2 separate regions of the Homo sapiens genome follow, and region 2 is linked to region 1. Evidence: promoter capture Hi-C in 16 types of primary human blood cells and fetal thymus (Javierre and others, 2016). All regions are on one chromosome and are shown on one strand. The core of a region is centred on a gene start or on the middle of the fragment in contact, and the rest is flanking DNA. Distances in the headings are between cores, read along the strand shown.

Evidence for each region. The method cuts DNA at HindIII sites, captures the fragments that hold promoters and counts their contacts. A CHiCAGO score of 5 or more calls a contact.
Region 2: a fragment that was not itself captured here is called in contact with the fragment with the promoter of COL25A1 in region 1 in 1 of 17 cell types (fetal thymus); the score reaches 5.6 in fetal thymus.

The regions. Positions count from the first base shown.
Region 1 is chr4:109,301,357-109,304,056 of GRCh38, forward strand. It overlaps COL25A1 (collagen type XXV alpha 1 chain), which reads right to left and starts at 1,302. Exons shown (of 38, transcript NM_198721.4): 1 at 813-1,302; 2 at 367-719. The coding sequence starts at 663. It overlaps COL25A1-DT (COL25A1 divergent transcript), which reads left to right and starts at 1,679. Exons shown (of 3, transcript NR_160939.1): 1 at 1,679-1,971. RefSeq lists an enhancer at 1,374-2,156. The HindIII fragment of the contact is 6,447 bases long and covers 1-1,560 here.
Region 2 is chr4:108,015,842-108,018,541 of GRCh38, forward strand. All of the region lies in intron 3 of HADH (hydroxyacyl-CoA dehydrogenase), which reads left to right. Among named protein-coding and RNA genes, the nearest start is that of HADH, 27 kb to the left of the region's middle. The HindIII fragment of the contact is 3,162 bases long and covers 1-2,700 here.

The DNA.
Region 1 (2,700 bases), core at 52-2,551:
ACATGTAAAAGATTTAACAGATGCTATCTCTGCAAGAAATATTCTCTCCACAATTGGGTTTGACTTAGGACAACTAAAAAGAGATAAAATGCCCTTTCCGAACCCTTTTAGACCTTCCTATGTGTTTAACACGCAAACATTAAGAGAGAGTGAGGGAAGATTAGAGATAGGGATGGGGACATCAAGGGATGTGCACATATAAATATATGCTACAGTGAGCATAGATCCTTGGCCAACACATGCACGCGCGCGCACACACACAGCCACACCAAGTATGGGTACAGTAAGGGTAGCGGCTAGTCATGCACACAGAGTCACGCTTGTACAAGATGTTACCCACGTGCAAAATACCCCAGCCTCTCACACCTGAGCCAGAAGTCGCTCCACTTTCTCTTGCACCATAGTCTTGAGGTGATCCAGGGTATCAGGCAGCAGATGAATGGAAGGGGCCCCTTTGGCGGATTCGAGAGCGGCGATCCTCGCCTGGAGGTCGTTGGTTTTCACACCCAGGTACAGGCAAGACACCACGGCCACCACTGACAGGAGGGCCGCCAGGACGGCACACGGGGGCATGGTCCGGGCACAATGCTGTTCGGCAGGGGTCGGGTCCTCGGATCTGGGCTCCCGGCCCCCTCCTTTCCCTGCGTGCTTCTTCAGCAGCATCGTGGCGGGGTCGGCCGTCTCGGCTTCGCTTCCCACCCTCTACACCTCAAATAATCCTAAAAGGAAAGAAAAAGGTCGATTCCTCCAAAGTTCAGTCCCTGTGGCTGCACAACTAGTTGGTGGAGTCAAGCCCACGAGCGGATACGGACCCCTGCCTTGCTCAGCGTCCAGACCCGCAGGCGTGCACCATCCCCGCTTTCTTCTCTCCTCCCAGCTGGAAGTGAAAAGCACCCTCCGTCCGGGGACTGGGTGGCGGTGGGGTAAAAAGCAAGACGAAACCCACCCAGACAGCTCTTCCGACTCCCAGAGGACCGACACCTCTTTCGAGGGCCCCAACAGTGGCCGCTCAGGGTCCGAGGGCAACGGCCGAGGCGCCACGCGGGGCCGCGGCTCGCCCTGGCCACGGAGGACCGGACCTGTTGCGCCTCTGTGAGTTTGCCTTATTTCTACCTACTCGGTGTCTTTCGGCACGCCGACCTGTTTCCCACCTGCATTCAGTTCAAGGCAAAAAGGCTGTGAGAGCACGCTACAGCGCAGCGCGAAAGGGGCGACTAAGGTGGAGAAGAGAGAGGAAAACGAAATAAACCCAAGGAACCAATGCTACTCGCGAAGCCGAAGTCGCGGCTGCCCGAAGGATCTCCGCAGCCCCGCGTGCGCGATCCTTAAATACCCTTCGCGATGCTCGCGTGAGTGTGTGTGTGAGTGTGTGAGTGCGCGCGCGCTCCGAGCACGACGTCCCTCCCCCGACCCCCTCCCGGCGCCCGGCGTCCGGCCTGCCGCTCCCGCTGCTGCGCGCCCCCCTTCCGAAGGCAAAGCAGGAGCCCGCCTTATTATCATAATGTATTCACCTTGGCCCAGCCCGCGGGCCGGCCCGGGGAACCCCCAAGGGAGGCGGGAAGCTTGGGTGGGAGCGGGGCAGGAGGTCTGTTATTAGCATAATGTATGCAAATAGCTGGAGCGGCCACCGTGATTGGAGAGGAGCCTGGCGACCCCTCCCCCTGCGCGGAGTAACTTCAGCATCTCCGAGGGCCACCTCTCTGGCCTGGGCCGGGGCCGAAGCGGGGTCGGCTGCGCAAGAGGCGGCAACTTTGGCTTATACTGACTCAGCCCAGCGCCCCCTTTTTATCCCACATAAAAATGGAGAAATGGCCTCCGGGAGGAAGATGTGAAGCGGCACGCTCTATCTCTACTGATCTTCACTCAAAAGCAGCCGCAGGAGCTGTTGCTATCTCGCTGTGGTGCAGCGCTTTTCCCTCCTCCCTCACTTTCCCACATGCCCAGAGGCAAAGTGTCTGGCCGACGTCTGAGGTACATTTCCCCACTTCCCTTCTCTTCCCACTGCAGCCCTCAGATTGTCCAACGAGGGGAAGTTTTCCTTCCCCTCCCCCAGTTTCCTTGTCTTGACGGCACTGAGTCTCCTCCCAGCTCTGTATTCCTAGTCTGTACTAGGGTGCTAATGTGTTTTCCTGATTCCCTGTTTTGCGGGATTGGAAAAGGGAGTGTTGAGGTATACACATTTCTCAGGATTTAGGAAAGGAATGAAGAATGAAGTCAGTTTTTCCTTTTACCTGACTCTTAATGCTGTTCTCTCTGGATCAAATTACAAGGTCTCTAATGGGATTTTGGAAAGTTGGTAACAAGTAGCATTTGACATCTAATTGACTTTGGGGAAAACAGAAATCCCACCTCTTATTCCAAAGAGTTCCTTCTTATCTCCCTATAAAAAAAAAAACCATATATTTTTCCTATTCTCCTTAATTAAGCTAACCTGAAGTCGTTGCTTACTATTGTAAACAGTCAACAAAATACTTCACTAAGTTGGTCTTTCACATGTGTAAACGGATATTGCTAGGTGTGAAGCAAGGTAAGGAAATAACAGCATTAGAGGAAGAAAGAGACTAACATTGGAGGAAAACTCAATGAATTTGGCTATAAAGTCAAAACCATAATTCATTTGTATTACACAGTGGTTCTCAAAGGATGGTCCTAGACCAATAACATCAGCATCACCTGAGAACTTGGACATTAAAATTCTAG
Region 2 (2,700 bases), core at 140-2,639, 1.3 Mb before region 1:
ACAGCAGACAGTTAAGGACATGTAGGGTACTTCTGTGCTCCACTCTCGGGCATAGGAGTACCCTACGTGTCCTTAACTGTCTGCCAAGGACCCTCAGAGCAGTTCTGTGTTTCCTCCTTTTTTGGATGGAGCAAACAGAATGGTGTAATTGAAGGGAATGCCTATAGACAGAGAGGACTTTCCTGTTTTGAGCTTCATCTGGGTTCAATCGAAGTACTCTTGGGAGTGTTAAAGGAGCATTGACTTCTTAGCTGGCTGGCTTCCTGGTGGAATTCTTCCTGGCAGAATGTACCTTGGGATCCAGAGCCTTCGAGTGTGTGACACCTGACCCACTGATCAGTGCTCTTCTAGTGACTTGTTTGACTATATTTTCATGCTTCTTGGTTGGAATTGAATGGCAGAATAAGATTATATGACAAAAGCAATTCTCAGGGCACTTCCGGTGGGCAGTGGCTAAAGAGAGTCACTTGCATACCAGCTTGTCGGAATGTTAACCTTCAGAGATGGGTGGCCTTGTGGCCAGAGAGGCCCTGCCCCTGACAAAGAGAAGAGACTTGCCTTTCTGTCATCTGTCCATCACTGCCAATCAGTGTCCTCGTGCATTTCACACTGGCATCTAGAGGCTACAGAGACATCTGACAAAAACAGAATATACTTGTGGTACCGGGACTGGCTCCCAGGCCAGCAGGGAGCCCTCTGGGATAATAAACAGCCACCCCAAAAAAGGGAGTTTTGTCAAGCAGTTTGATCTTTATTGAAAAGATTGGTCGCTCTTGGTGACAGTGAAAGGCCTGACTGCCCTCCATTGTCCATGTCTGGTACAGAAGAAGGATCACTGGAGAAAGTCAGGAGGCCTGGGCCTGGTGCTGACCCCCTCACCACCTCCAGCCTTGGAAAGGTCCTCAGTTTCGTCATCTGTAATGCAAGTTGAGGTGATTGGGGTAAATAATTTCCTAGACCTTTCTGGCTCTAACTCTCTAAGACTAGCTTCCCCCATTTGTAAAATAGGAGCAGCAGCACTGGTACCTATTGTACAGAGTTGTTTAGGAAACTCATTTCATTTAGCTCACATTTCCTGAGTGCCTGCTGTGTATCAGGCACTACACTAGGCTCTTTAACCTGAATTGATGCAAAACAGATATGAGGTGTGAAAAGAAGGCATGACCCATAGTCATACCAAAGATGTGACTTTGCTGCTGACCTTCTCCACCTTTCTTGGCACTGTTTGTTTTTGTTTTAGATCACCACCATTATTGAATGCTTGCTACAATTTTTAAGCAGCCGTATTGAGAGGTACTTTACTGACAAATTTTACAGTTCGATCCTATAATGGGAGAAGAAAATATAGTCAAGTGATACATTTCGGGTTGGAAGCCCTGATGAAACAGTTGCATCCTGGAGAGAACATGACTTCTCTAGCAGCAGCCTAAGACACACAAATGAAAAGTATGACCAGACGCACAGGCAGCCAGATCGAAGTCCTGACTTTCCCCTTTAGACAAAGTACAGACTCTTGAATCCTTTGCCATCCCCACCAACCCTCTTGTCTTCTTTATACTAGGGTCTGGGGCCATTGCTAATAATCACTGTGCTTGTGTTGTCGATTTTCTTTTAGAACATTTAAGAGAAAAGTAGTTTTTTTGGTACCTGAGTGTCCGAATGAAAAAAACAAAAGATGGTTCAAGACAAGTGTTTCCAGGAACATGTAAGAGTACTTTTTTTTTTTTTTTGAGACGGAGTCTCGCTCTGTCGCCCAGGCTGGAGTGCAGTGGCATGATCTTAAGCTCACTGAAACCTCTGCCCCCCAGGTTCAAGCAATTCTCCTGCCTCAGCCTCCCTAGTGGCTGGGATTACAGGCATGCGCTACCATGCCCAGCTAATTTTTGTATTTTTAGTAGAGACGGGGCATGTTGGCCAGGCTCGTCTCGAACTCCTGACTTCAAGTGATCCACCTGCCTCGGCCTCCTAAAGTGCTGGTATTACAAGTGTGAGCCACCGTGCCCAGCCCAGAGTACATTTTGTTTGTGGATGAAAAGACTGTCCTATGTGTTTAGTATTCTCTGAAGACAGTGTGAGACTTTTAGGAACAAAGTCAGCCTGACCCTGTTGGGAGAGGCAGAAGCAGAGGTCTGCTGGGGAGAGATCATTTCCTCCTTCTGATAAAATGTGCCAGAGTGCCCTGGACTGGTGATACCTGGAACTGGGCTCTGATGTCACTTTATTTTACCAAATGTGCCCAAGTTTCCCCTTTTTGCAGGTGAATGGCCCTTCAAACATTCTACAAAAAGGGGTATTACGATTGTAATACTAATCTTTAAAATAACACTTTCTTTTCTTAACGGGAGTGTGGAGCCACAGCTGGCACAGCCTTGGGCCCAGGCTGTCCCTGCTCTGTTTTTGTGGTTCCAGGTGCTTGTGGTGCAGGTTGTGTGGTTGAACAGTGCTTGTGTTGGCCACACACATTGTTATTGGAAGAGGATCTTTTTTTCATTACCTTCTGTAATGGGGAATAGTTTATATTATTTTCCCCAATGACCAAAAGCAAGAAACTTTGAAAACTGAAATTTTAAGACCTTAAAACAATGTCATTTTTTTTTTAAAAAGGAAACCCTGGCATTTAAATGGCCTACCTTGGAAGCTGTTGGAGAAGGTGGATGTGCTCATACCTGGAAAGAGAAGGCTCTCCGCTGCCTACCCACA